5 separate regions of the Homo sapiens genome follow, and regions 2, 3, 4 and 5 are each linked to region 1. Evidence: promoter capture Hi-C in 16 types of primary human blood cells and fetal thymus (Javierre and others, 2016). All regions are on one chromosome and are shown on one strand. Each heading gives the region's core, a stretch centred on a gene start or on the middle of the fragment in contact. The rest is flanking DNA. Distances are from core to core; before and after follow the strand shown.

Region 1 (2,700 bases), core at 195-2,694:
CTGACCAGACTGGGCACAGTGGTTAACACCTGTAATTCCAGCACTTTGGGAGGCCAAGGCGGGTGAATTACCTGAGGTCAGGAGTTCGAGACAGCCTGGCCAACATGGCAAAACCCCGTCTCTACTGAAAGTACAAAAATTTGCCAGGTATGGTGGCAGGTGCTTGTAATCCCAGCTACTCAGGAGGCTGAGGAAAGAGAATTGCTTGAACCCGGGAGGCGGAGGTCGCAGTGAGCCAAGATAGCACCACTGCACTCCAGCCTGGGAGACAGAGCGAGACTCCATCTCAAAAAAAAAAAAAAAAAAAAAAGTTCTGGCCAACTGCCCTCTAGACAAATTCTATCCTCTGTTATTCTCTGCATTCTTTGGAGGGAGAGGCACACTTACTTATTAACCATGACCTATCTTTTTCCATGACAATTTCACAACCTTTCCTTTAGTTGTGCCCATCCCCATTCCCCCTTTCCTAGGTGTTCATATCCCACCAATCCCACAGCGGGAGGCTGCTCATCCATAGACACTCCTAATTAGCCTGCATGCTTCTGTTGCTGGGATCACATCTCTGCCCTTTTCCAGGTGCCTAACACTTAATAGGTTCTTACTTGATCATCTTGCGACCTAAAAGCTTGTACATCTCTGCTCATTTTGACGTTGGTAGATCTTTGATCACTGATAAGCAATTCAGTCTGTTTTCTACACTTGCCCAATTCCTTTCTTCTGCCTTCTGCAGAAAGATTCATGTTTGTGTGTATTCTGCAGAGGGTCCCAGAGGCAGAAATCTGGCAGTGTCTACCTGTGGGTGAGGGTGTGGGAGACAGCTCCCAGCACACTGCAGTGTGGGCTCCTACGCAATCCACTCCACGTAGGTTATGTAAGCACGAGCTATTCATGCATGTGAGGCTCTGCTGTTTCCCCATATGATTTGGGTACTCTGTTGGTAAAGGTTGTATGAAAGTGCATGCATATCTCTCTAAGTGCATACTTAAGTGAGCCCAGACTTTCAAAGATTTTCATATTTTGAACACATCACCACGTACTTGTTTTTTAAGTTAAAAAAATGTAACACTGCTCCCTCTTTTCACCCAATTCCTCATTTTCACCAGTCTCTGGCACCACTGTCTCCCCTCATCCATGGCTCCCCTCTCCCCTTAGAGCACTTTACCTGTGTGGGGTGGACGTTGTGGCGGGGGCCTGCATCCTTCCGGAGCCTGTGCTGGAGGCCCCCATTCTCAGAGGGCAGTCCGTAGCTGGTGCAGTGTTCAAAGGGCATATACTGGTACTGGGGGTCACTACCCCACCAGCTTTGTTCACCCCCACGCTGCTGTGACCGGGATTGCTCCATATTCCCTCCCCCCGAGCCCCGGCCAGGCCTTGGCCTGCTTGCCCCTGTCCTTCCCCCAGTGTAGCTCCTTAAGCCTCTGCTCTTGCTGTCCCCAAGGCGTCTGGGGCAGCATGCCCACCTCCAGCTATTTATAGACCCCTCTCCGTCACATGACCCCCCACTGCCACATCTGATCTGCTTGGGGTCGAAGCAGGTGTGAGTGCAGTGTGGGGGTGGGGGTTGGGATGAGAACCTGAGGGACAGCCCCACAGGGAATTCCCTCTGCTGAGCCAGTGGCATTGTCCCCCTTCTTAGTCACCAGTAGTAGGCTTCCAGCTCCATGTCACTGGTCCCTCTATAAATATCGCCTGGACCAGGATGAGAAACTGCTGAGTATGCTCTCAAACCTATGTGTAGAGCCGGATCTGCATGGAAGCCCTCCAGTTGCCCATCTCTCTTCTTCAGGATGCGGAAGGTGAGGGGTGGGTGCTGGATAAAGATGAAGCGACTCGAAGTTCTGGAAACACTGGCACATTAACTCACCTGGGAAAGTAACTGGTGCCTCTCTGCCACATCTCCTGGCCAGCTTGTTCCCAACTCTGTGTCCACCCAGGGTTCTGTCTGGCCAGCTCTGCCAGCCCATCCCATGTCCAGCGTTCTTCTCTAGCTCTTTGCCCTTCTGTCTGCCAGAGGCTGCTAATAACAGCTTGGGGGCATCCCCTGATCCCATCCTTATCACTCACTGGGTGTGGAACACTTATGGGAAGTGGGAAGTCGAGGGTCGGTAATAGCCTTGGGTTCTAGAATTTCTCCCACTTCCCAGACTGTTAGGTGTCAGCCACACTGCCAACCCGGAGGGACTGAGCTTCCATTTGGACTGTGGAGTGCCCACACTGGCTCCATCAGATAGATAACAAGGGAGATAACAGGGGAGAATCGAAAGTAGAAAGAGGCACAGGGAAGGGAGAGGTGGGAAAGGGGTGAGGGCTTCTCATGACAAGCCCGACAAACATGAAAGATGATGGGGAAGTGCTCTCTGCTATTCTTCCCTTTTCAGGTCAATAAATACTTTTTTGGCCAAGGACAAACTTTTCTTCCTGGCATCACGTTATAAAACCAATTTTCCTATGACATGTCTTCCCTATGAACTCTTCACTGTAGGAGAAAAGATATGAACTGAGCCAAAGTAAAGTTTAGGATGCATTACCAAGTGGGGTCTGTCCCAGGACAGTCCAAGTTCAGGGACTGCAGGGTAGGGACACCAAACATCTGGTCTACAATGTGATTTTGACCTAGGCTAAATGGAACCACCCAAAGCAGGAGGGAAGCCAATATCATTAAAAGTACTTTTTCTAGGGCCTCAACATCATTAATCATCA
Region 2 (2,700 bases), core at 89-2,588, 140 kb before region 1:
ACAGAAAAAAATGGAATGTTTACAAGAGTTGTCATGACATAGATAGGAAAACAACGAGCAAAGACATAAAGATTTTGCCAGAAATAAAATATTCAGATTCTATCCCTGTCCAGACTATCCTGCTGGACCTAGGAGAGGGAAACATCACTAAGGTAGAATAATTCTGAAACAACATTACCAAATCTATTTTATCCTGGTCCATTTAAAATTGCTGTGAAGGACCTAGAATAAAATTCTGCTTAGTAACTAATTTAATCACATATTTTACTCCTAAGGTTTATTTTTTGTTCTGTTTCATACTTTTCTATATTTGGGTATTCTAGAAGTTTGCAATCGGTGAAAACTAATGATTCCTCATGTGAAATGGTAAGAATTCCTTTGCTTATTCATCATTTTATATTGTTCATGCTTTTTCATCTATTTTTATATTTCAAAGTATCCTTTTATACTTTGGAAAGGCCTTGTGTCTGTCATTATAGATAAAGGAAATAGTCACAATATATGAAAAAAACAATATAAATTTAGTATTCTAATTTTGTAAAAGTATGTTTTTATGGTTGATATATTGGCATTGTATGTTTTTGTACAATGAGCATAATTCAGGGTGAGAAGATACATCTGGAAGGAGTCATGAGTGCCAACTATGATTATCTCCGTATAGTGAACATGAGGGATTTTTAACTTTTTAATAATAGTCTGTTTTCCATATTTTCTGCAATAATCATGTATTATCAAAAATAATATTTAAGTTTTAAAACTAATGAATTCTTTGTGATATTGCTGTGGTTTAAATGTGTCCCTCAAAATTCACATGTTGAAACCTAATTGCCAATGCAACCACATTAAGAGACTGGGCCTTTGGGGAAGTGATTAAGTCTATTTTATAAGAGCACTAATCCATTCTTGAGGGTGGAGCCTCATGAACAGATCAGTGCACTTACAAAAGAAATTGAAGGGAGTGCCCACATGCCTTTTGCCCTTTTGCCTTTTGCCTTTTTGCTCTTCCATCACTTTTGCCAGGTGAGAATGGCACCAAGAGAGGATGCCATCGATAGAGCAGTTCCTCACCAGACACTGAATCTGCCAGTGCCTTGATCCTAGACTTCCCAGCCTCAGAACTATGAAAATATAAATTACTATTGTTTATAAGTAACTCAGTCTCAGGTATTTTGTCATAACAGCAAGAACAGACTAAGACAGATGTTGTTAAGGAACTCTAAATAACTCTATCTCCACATTAGCCTTAACCTGCAAGACTAGATTTGAGGCTATTAAGAACTGATTTATCTGGCTTGGAGGATATCTGGATGGAGGAAGGGCAGAGCAAGACAGAACCGGTCACAGTATTTAAAGTCTCACCATTACACAGAGTTGTATATTAATCTTCTAAAGACGTAATTACTGCTGTCTTCTGGAAAATCGTCTATATAAATATTGAGTGTTGGACTAATTGATCCAATTAAACCTTTCAGCATGTCTGCCCTGCCTTTTCCTGCAAACACATGTTGCCACTACTAGTACCAGCAGGACCATCTTGCCACCACCATCATAACCTGAGGAATTCAGCCCCCATTCCCATCCTACAGACATAAAAAATGAGGGCCTGTAAGGGTAATGACTTCTCAAAGCCACAAAATAAGAGGCAGAAGAGAATGAACACTTAAACTTAGGTCTTGACTCCAAGACACTAACACATTCTTTAAGAGTCGTTGTGTCATCTGGTTTAGCTCTTTTCATCACCAATTTCATGCCTTGGAAGCCTTTTAATTTCGAAGATAAAGGCCAAAATTAGAACCCTGATAGCCTCCCCTTCCCAAATCTCTGCTAGTGTAAGACAAGGAGGAGGATGCCTACAGTAGAATGCCAGGGGTGGTGCAAGAAAGTGTTTGACCCTCATTTGGTCTTGGGAATTAGTGATTAGAAGGGCATCTGGCTGTGATTAGGGCACTTGACTAACTTATTCCAAATTTCTGGGTTCTGACTCAGGATTCTCTAAGTTCAGGAAAGCCATTTACAAATTTCAAGTCACGGCAAAAGAAAGGAAGTTTCTTTGAGGCTTTTGCAATTTTACTTCTCAGAGCTGGGTTACTACCGGTTGCTGCAGGACTGGGCTGGTCCAGGGAAACTGGAATCGAAACCATGCTAGTTCATAAAGTATGATGATGTCAGAAACAAGCACAGACCAATGTAGATCAATACTGCAAGTCAAGGAGGGAGTCAAAGACAACAATCATAGGGCTAGACCAAGCTGGAGCAAACAGGCCAGGAGCAGAGTCCTCCTTGGGAAACCACTTAACTTTTCCGATTATCTATAAGACAGTAGAACTTAAGCAGAATTTAGAATCCAAGGTTTAAACTCAGCAAAGAAATGTGAATGGAGAGCATAGGAAAGCAGAGGAAAATATCTCAAGGTTTAATTATTTTTTACTCGAATGAGAATGCTGTTGATTTTAGGACAGGGACTGCACTCTGTCACCCAGACTGGAGTGCAGTGGTGTGATCACAGCTCACTGCAGCCTTGACCTCCCCGGGCTCAAGCAATCCTCCCTTCTCAGCCTCCTGAGTAGCTGGGACCACAGGCGCATGCGACCACACCTGGCTAATTGTACTTTTTGTAGAGATGGGATTTTGCTATGTTGCCCAGACTAGCCTGGAACTCCTGGACTCAAGCGATCTGCCTGCATCAGCCTCTCAAAGTGC
Region 3 (2,700 bases), core at 80-2,579, 190 kb before region 1:
CTTCTTCTTTAAACATTTCTTTGATAAGCAGAAACCTTCAAAATCATTCTACTGATCTTAATGCTACCTCAAACTAGCAGAGCAGAATTTTAAATCTATGTTTCATGGTGGCTATATTAATAATGATTATAGTGCTTCTCCCACCACAACTCAAAAAACTAAAAAACTCTAAAATCTAACCAGTGTCATATATAAAGCTTAGAGTCAGACCTCTGTCTCCATTTAGGAAATACTTGACATTGAGCCAGGCTTGTGTGGCCTAACCCAGCCCCAATTCTCTCCTTCCTCAAATGAAATAATATCTATGAAATTTCTTGAAATTAAGCACTGTACAAACATAAATTATTTTTATTTGTGGAAAAAGAAGTGGAACATTCTCCTAGCAAGATGAGAGCTGGAGAGTCATCTTTATTAAGGGAGCTGGGAGAATTTCACTGGATTCCTTTTCATTTGACTTAGAGGTAGATGGAGAGAGGAAGGAGGTCTGTAAGGCAGTTTCTCAGTCAGCACCCCTCACTTTCCTTCTCCATCTTCAAGACAGCTGCTGTATATTCACTATCAACAGGAACAAAGACAAGATGAAAAAGGGCTCCTGTGCCTCTGAACAGCTTCTGGACCTCAATTTACTCTTGGATAATCATTTCTGGCCCCTACACTCACTACCCTCTTTTGACCTCCCTCTGGCTCCAGTGTGCCCATGTCCACCCTACCTGGCCAGAAGATGGCTTCCTGAACTGGACTCTATCGTCACCTTTGTAGAGGGCTTAACCCAGTAGCCCTCTACAGGCTACAGTCAGCTTCCAGGATGTGAGGGAGCACTGAAACTTTCTGCATTTATTGCAAAGCTTGAGGAATAGTTTCAATTAACAGAGCTTCTAAAAAGGTGCTTCCAAAATATCTCTCACAACCTACCAAGGATGGCATAAAACACTTCAGGTTTGAGGCAGAGAACTGTTGGAACAGTTTGTATTTTGCGAAGGAGAAAAATATGAAAATGTTCAGTTTACAAGGCACAGCAGGATAGAAGTAAATGTGTGAGGAAATAAAAATTAATCTCTGTTTCTAGCATTGGCTTGACTGGCACCTTTCTTCTAAACTCTTCAAAGCATTTCAACATAAAAATATCTACTATTCACTGAGGGCTTATCATGGACTGGACACTGTGCTAAGTGCTCTGCATGGATCGTCTCATTTGATCTTCACAAAAGCCCGTGAGTCAGGTATTACCATCCTCCCCATTTTACATCAGAAGAAACTGAGGCAGTAGAGACTTTAACTTGCCCATTGCTGCAAAGGCACAAGGTAGGAACAAAGATTCAGACTTGCACATTCAGGGTCTAGAACCTACACCTTTAGCCACCAGGCTATGCAGCCTCCAGAGGGGTCTTGGTGGGCTAAGTAGATGAAACAACCTCCGCTACACAGAGTGCATGTGATACTGAAAAAGATTTGAAAATCTTGCGAAAATATCACAGCCACGATGGAATTCCCAGGTCCCAGACCACAAGATCTCAAATCTATTGTAGAAACTAAGGGGAACTGGTTTACTGAACAAGCTGAATTCACAAACTGTAATCAGAAAAGTGCTGTGTTCTTTCTCATCTCCATACACTCAAACCTGCACTATGGGGCTAGTCCTTCTCTGTGCCTTGGACTAAATCCATAACAAGTAGCATGAATGTTCTAGTTCCTCCCAAAAAATCAAAACGTTTTCATTCGCCTTAAGTCCCCAAAACATTCTCACTGCAGTCTTAAAAATATCCAGCCCAAGGTAAAATCAAACCTCTAAACCTTGTTTTAAGATAAAGCTTCTTCTGACTCCCAACCCCAAAAGCTTAAAGTGGGGAATGTTGGCTTCTTCTCTCTTCTCTAACCTTCCTAGCTTCCTCACCTCCCTCCCCTGCCTGGCCCCCACTAGACTGCTTCTGACTCCTCATGGGTTAGAGCAGGGGACAGAGACAGGTAAGAAGCAGAAATGTTCTTGTTGATGTGCAGTGGGGGAAGCACTTGGAGAGCAAGAAGGAGATCAGACTCAAGAAGACAAGAGAAAGTATAGAGAACAAAGCTGGAGGATCTTTAATCATGAATTAACCCCAGGGCAACCTGGGATGGGAGTAAGAAAAGAGATTAGAATCTGTGTTAGTTTCCCATTGCTGCTGTAACAAATTGCCACATATTTGTGGCTTAAAACAACGTAAATGTATTCTCTCACAGTTCTGGAAGTCGGAAGTTCAAAATCAATTTTACTGGGCTAGGGTCAAGGCATTGGCTGGGCTTGTTCCTTCTGGCAGCTTCAGAGGAAAACTCATTTCCTTGCCTTTTTTCAGCTTTTAGTGGCTGCTGGCATTCCTGGGCTTGTGACCTCTTCCTCAGGTCATTCTAACTTCTTGCTTCTACCTTCACATCTCTTGGCCTTTGGCGTGGGCTGCCAGTCATCCTGTTCCATTCAGCTCTTCATGGATACAGCCGACTGGGGCTGTGGATGTATGTGGGCAGGGGAGGGAATGAAGAAATGCAGCCAGGATAGGGCACACCGCAGCACCAAGCAGCTACAACATAATCAGATTGTGAGCATTAAACAGAAGGCATGTGGAGTAGTTTTCTAAAGCAGCCTGTTCGATTCTTTGTAAAAGGCCCTTCACGGTTTCCCCAGCTTGATATGGGCTTGGCCCTAAAGAGAAGACGGAGGCAGAAAGATCT
Region 4 (2,700 bases), core at 1-2,500, 200 kb before region 1:
TGCACAGAGGATTGCATGGTGAGAGGCATCCAGTGATGTGTTGTTTCTGTAGAATAATCTGTAAAAATAGAATTGAGGAAAATATTATTTCTTCAACTCTTAGAAGCAGAATAGAGAATATTCAAGAAGATGATATCCTTGATTATTTTTCAGCTCCATGGGAGAACAAATATTTGACCTCAGACAAAGCCTAGGAAGGAAAGTCTCCATGTATTACTCCTTTGTCTTGGTCAAAGAACAAAATCCCCAGGCCCCAGACCACATCAATAACAGGATCCGCCACTGAAGAGACTCCCCACTGATGAGACTGGGCCCCCCTCAGAGCCCAGCCTCGGGCCTCCTGAATCATTTAGGCATTTATTGCTCTTTCTCAGCAACCACAGGGATCTATTCTGGAAACACTAAGGCAGGCAATTGGATGGCAGGGAAATGATCCCGTTGGAAAGAGCCCCCGAAGCCAAAATCACTCACATCACTCTCAGGGGTGACAGATTTTCCAAGGGGCCTGCAACTTTCCGATGCAGCATTTGAAAATAATCAGCCACACTCCTGGAAAGTGGCTTGCCTGGGAGATCAACATCGTTTTTCTCACCAGTGTTTACTTTTGCATTTTGATGAATGATGAAAACACCTTGGCAGTACTGAGATAGCCTTGGTTTCCTCATCCAGGCAGCTCCCTTGCCCTGGTACTTCATTCCAGCTCTCATCTATGGCCAGCAAGAAACAGAAAAACATCTTTTAGAAGGAGGGTCTTGCTGGGTTTTCGAGGGAGATCACTTGCTGTTTTGTAGCACAAAATGATGTTTAGAAGTTTAAAGTATGTTCAAGTCTACTAAAATCAACTTCATGGAAAATGATAGTTATTTTTAGAAACAAATTTTGAAAACAAACTAGCTTCCCTATTAAATGCTAATATTTCTCAAGTAGATAAAGTAACTAATCCTCAGGCCTAGGGTCGTTTTCAAAATGTGAAAGTACAATATCATGCATCTATGTGTGATGAAGTTGACCTTCACAGCACCAGAACTGGGACAGTCCCTCCACCAGATAATTTTGATGTGGAACATTCAAGTGCTCATTTTTGAAGCTTATCCCTCGTCCTCTGGCAGAAGCCTGAGTTACAGACATTAGTTAAAACGGGTACTGCCTCATTGAAGTAAGGAATTTTTTTTTTTTTTAAGCATCAAAGTCAGCTCTAATATCAGCAGGACTCCTAGATTTTCCTGGTTCAAAGCTCCTCTCCAGATGAAAATAAAAGAGACCAGGGAGCCTGAAATGATGCTTTCCTCAAAGCCCTGATCCCATCATTGACTTCTGCAGAAAAGAGAACTGGCAGTGGCAACTATTCAGGAGGTCTAAACACAGGTGCACATGTTGCCGAGACTGGTAATTATGACTTGTCAGGAAGCTTGAGGGGAACGTGTTGGTCAAAAGGCAAAAACAAAGGTCGCATACTGACCCAGAACTAGCAGACTAAAAGACTGCCCATGTAACCATCATGTTAAAGAAGGGCTCCAGGGCTGATGCCACAGCTACCCAGGATATCTCATTTGTATAACGTGCAGGATCACTAAACACTTCAGAAAACACCATAAAGGGGGAAAAGCAAGAATGTTTGTGTAAGGAAAACATTCCCTATTGAATCTGTTAATAGTTAAATGCTTTTGAGAGAGAAAGAAGCCAACAAGAAACTAACAGAGGGTTTCTTTTATTTAGACTTTCAAAAGACCTTGACAAGATCTCATACCAAATTTAGTCATCACAGATTCAGTAGGCGGCTTTATCATGTAAAAGGAACTGGCTCACAAGACAGAAACACCATGCAGGCAAATAACACATATCCCAGCGATGGAGGCTGAGATCATAAAAGGTTGGGGAGGGACAACACAGTGAAGTTGATAAATCCAGAGATGACATTTACCTCCTTTCAGTAAAGGAATTACCAAATTGATGAGGAAAAAAAAAAACACTAAAAAATGTGGAAGTTTGCATGACAGCAAAAAAAAAACAAGAAGAATAGTAAATGAGTTTTCTTTTATAAAATAAATTTAAATTTAACATATATAATGCAAATATATGTAAATTAATTATTTTCAAGTTATCTGTCATAAACCAAGAAAAAGGCCTGTATGATGTAGGGAAAGGAGGCATTACAGTAATTGCAGTTGTCGGCTGCTATGCAGAGGGAGCACAAAGACTGACATGACATTGTAGAAGACAGAGTAGTCAAATGAAATGATTAGAAACCACCTTTTGTTAGCTTCTTCATGCCTGGTACTATGTAATGGGCTTTCTTTATAATATGCCTGATTCTCACAGCAACCCTATGAATTAGGCATCATTATCTCCATTTAGATGTAGAGACTGAGGATCATGGAAATTGAGTACATCAACCAAAGTCAATATGGCACATAAGTGATTAAGCCAGGATTTTAATCTAGTGATGTCTTCTTCCATAGCTTGTACAGTCTCAGAAAGACAGTAGGAAGTGCAGGAGGGAAAATAAGTGGAAAGATAGAAATAGGTGGATAGATAGAAGACAGACAGACAGATAGACAGACTTCCCTACATCTATGTCTACTCATCTCCTCATAAGGTTCCCACACCCAGATATACACTCACTTTACTTCTTGCACCTCAGAAAGAGAAAAGGCACTAGGTAATCCCCTGAAACAGCACGCTTATGGAGAGTTCCATGGT
Region 5 (2,700 bases), core at 107-2,606, 170 kb before region 1:
ACTAGAAGACTGGAAAACAGTTTAAAAACATTGTTTTCAGATATGAAAAAAACAGCACAAAACTGTGATTACTGTGAGAAGGAAAAATAATGAGGTGATTCTTACAATCACCCAGATTTTCTGCCAGGAGGCAATATCCAGATTGTAGCACAAAGAGAGAATTTAAACAGACCTGGAAATCTTGCTCAGTGAAGGATGCGGAGATTAGAGGGAAAAATAAGCTACACAGGAAAATGGTTCCAGAAATCAGTCTTTGAGTCCTTGGCTAAACACCAATCCGTATGTGAGTAGTGTGAAACCCTGTAAGACTGAGAAAAAAACAATCTCCAAAGAAAGAAAAAATGCTGGAGTGCTATAAAACAAACAATTCCCAGAACTCCTACGGGGCCAGGATTCATTTTAGCACTCTTTGGCCAGAGTGAAGAAACATTACTGAATATACAAAGCACTCCATATGAGTTGCAAAGATGCTATGTCTTAGAAGTTGAGCAAAATTAGTAGCCCTAGAAAAAGACTACCATAGACCTACCCTAAATTTGCTTTTAAAAAAATCAAAAGCATCAAACTAATTTACAAGTAACTGTCAGAAAAAGTCTAAAATGCTTCAATAGAAAACAACAAAACCAAGTATTAAATAACTTAAGATTTCTAATTTACAACATTCAGTAAAAAATTACTAGACCTTAAAAAATCAGGAAAATAAGATTCATAACCTGGAACAGATTGGTCAACAAACACAGGCCTAGAAACAGAAGAAACTAAACAAGACTTGTAAAGATGAAAAATAAAATACGTAAAATTTAAATTTCACTAGATGGAATTAACAATAGTTTAGGCACTGTAAAATAAAATAATAGTAAGCTTGACCTCCTGAATGTATAAGCATCTAACAGCAGAGCTTCAAAATATATGCAGCAAAAAAAGGACAAAAATTTAAAAAGGTATCAGGCCAGGCCCCATGGCTCATGCCTGTGATCCCAGCACTTTCGGAGGCCAAAGCAGGTGTATCTCTTGAGCTTAAGAGTTCGAAACCAGCCTGGGCAACATAGTGAGACACTGCCTCTACAAAATATTAAAAAATTAGCCCAGCATGGTGGTGCGTGCCTGTGGTCCCAGCTACTCCAAAGGCTGAGGTGGGAGGATTGCTTGAGCCTGGGGGGCAGAGGTTGCAGTGAGCTGTGATTGTGCCACGCACCATAGCCTACATGTCAGAGCCAGATTCTGTCTAAAATTAAAAATAAAAAAATACACAATTCGAGTAGAATAATTCAACACTTGCCTCTCAGTAAATGAACAAGTAGACAGAAAATCCGTAAGGATACAGAGGATATAGAAGACTTGAACAATGCTATCAACCAACAGGACCTAGCTGACATTTATAGAACACTCCATCCAACGTCAGCAGAATACACATCCATTTCAAGTGCACATGGAGCATTCATCAGGACTGATAATCCAGTGGGCCATGAAGCAAATCTCAAGAAATTTTAAAAGACTGAAATCATGCAGACTATGTCCTCTAATCACAATAGAATTAAATTTGAAATTAATGCCAGAAAGATAACTGGAAGATCTCACAAATATTTAGATATTAAACACTACTTGTTTGGTTAACCCATTGGCCAAAGCAAAAATGAAAAGGGAAATTGGAAAATCTTTTGAACTAAATAAAAATTAAAACACAATACTGTCTGTCAAAATTTGTGGTATGTCTTTTCAACAAACAGTGCTAAAACATTTGTATATTCATAAAGGGGGAAAATGAACCTCAATCCTTACCTCACTTCATATACAAAATTAACATGAAATGGATAAGAAACCTAAATGTAAGAGGTAAAACCATAAAGCTTCTAGAAAAACAAGAAAATCTTTGTGATCTTAGGATGGCAAAGATTTCTTGAGGTACACATAAAATCATGAACCATAAATGAAAAAAATTGTATACAATCCCATAAAGTATATTTCAATATATGGATGATTGTACTATATATTACCGACCTAATATTAACATTGATTACTTCTGGTAAAATATATAATGGAGAGAAGAATGAAGAAGGATGGAGGCATTTTATTTTCCTTAAATTTTTGTGTACTGTTTATAATTTTTTAAAATAAGATTCTACTACTTTCATAAAAATAAGAATAAACTTTTAAAATATATGTTCTATAGAATGTGCTGGCTGACACTTCTTTCAGAATGAGATCTCAGCACAAAGGAATACAAGCCCTGGGAACAGATAAGGTGGGGGCCAATAAGGGAAATGATTTTCTGAGGATTCCCACCCCTGTTTCCCTCACAAATTATAGTTCTTTGGCTTCCTCCACCACCTAGATGAGAGGATGAATTTTAAGAAGCCACTACTCAGTGTGATGTTCAGTCAGTCAGTTAGTCCCCCAACTCTAGATATCAGGCTCAGTTTAGAAACTAGAAAAACATACAATAAAAAGAGAAAACGCCCTCTCTACCTTTCAGTTAGTTAGAAGTGAGAAAAGAGAAGCAAAGGAGTCTGACTTGGTAGAGATTTTTTTCCAGCTCTAGCTCCTGGCTGCAGAAAAAGTAGAAAGTCCAGGTGTGTGAGATTCATACCCTTACTAAAACTATGGGGTGGGTGTTTCCCTTTTGCAGATAAAACTAAAAGAGGAAAACTGATTTGGTGAACTGGACCTCCAGGCCACTGGACATTGCCAAGCACTCTTCAA

What was found. Contacts are between HindIII fragments. The CHiCAGO score rates a contact against its expected background, and 5 or more counts as called.
Region 2: a fragment that was not itself captured here is called in contact with the fragment with the promoter of CLCN1 in region 1 in 1 of 17 cell types (M0 macrophages); the score reaches 5.1 in M0 macrophages.
Region 3: a contact is called between a fragment that was not itself captured here and the fragment with the promoter of CLCN1 in region 1, in 3 of 17 cell types (M0 macrophages, M1 macrophages and M2 macrophages). The highest score is 11.4, in M0 macrophages.
Region 4: a fragment that was not itself captured here is called in contact with the fragment with the promoter of CLCN1 in region 1 in 1 of 17 cell types (M0 macrophages); the score reaches 6.0 in M0 macrophages.
Region 5: a fragment that was not itself captured here is called in contact with the fragment with the promoter of CLCN1 in region 1 in 3 of 17 cell types (M0 macrophages, M2 macrophages and M1 macrophages); the score reaches 6.5 in M0 macrophages.

What each region holds. Positions count from the first base shown.
Region 1 is chr7:143,314,855-143,317,554 of GRCh38, reverse strand. CLCN1 (chloride voltage-gated channel 1) reads right to left here and starts at 1,444. Exons shown (of 23, transcript NM_000083.3): 1 at 1,163-1,444. The coding sequence starts at 1,342. The HindIII fragment of the contact is 3,265 bases long and covers 628-2,700 here.
Region 2 is chr7:143,457,793-143,460,492 of GRCh38, reverse strand. All of the region lies in intron 2 of EPHA1-AS1 (EPHA1 antisense RNA 1), which reads right to left. Among named protein-coding and RNA genes, the nearest start is that of TAS2R60, 16 kb to the right of the region's middle. The HindIII fragment of the contact is 4,169 bases long and covers 1-2,700 here.
Region 3 is chr7:143,499,751-143,502,450 of GRCh38, reverse strand. The region is part of intron 2 of EPHA1-AS1 (EPHA1 antisense RNA 1); the gene reads right to left. Among named protein-coding and RNA genes, the nearest start is that of TAS2R41, 23 kb to the right of the region's middle. The HindIII fragment of the contact is 963 bases long and covers 848-1,810 here.
Region 4 is chr7:143,516,289-143,518,988 of GRCh38, reverse strand. EPHA1-AS1 (EPHA1 antisense RNA 1) reads right to left here. Exons shown (of 5, transcript NR_033897.1): 4 at 472-707; 5 at 1-58. Among named protein-coding and RNA genes, the nearest start is that of TAS2R41, 40 kb to the right of the region's middle. The HindIII fragment of the contact is 321 bases long and covers 1,090-1,410 here.
Region 5 is chr7:143,481,924-143,484,623 of GRCh38, reverse strand. The region is part of intron 2 of EPHA1-AS1 (EPHA1 antisense RNA 1); the gene reads right to left. Among named protein-coding and RNA genes, the nearest start is that of TAS2R41, 5.4 kb to the right of the region's middle. The HindIII fragment of the contact is 986 bases long and covers 864-1,849 here.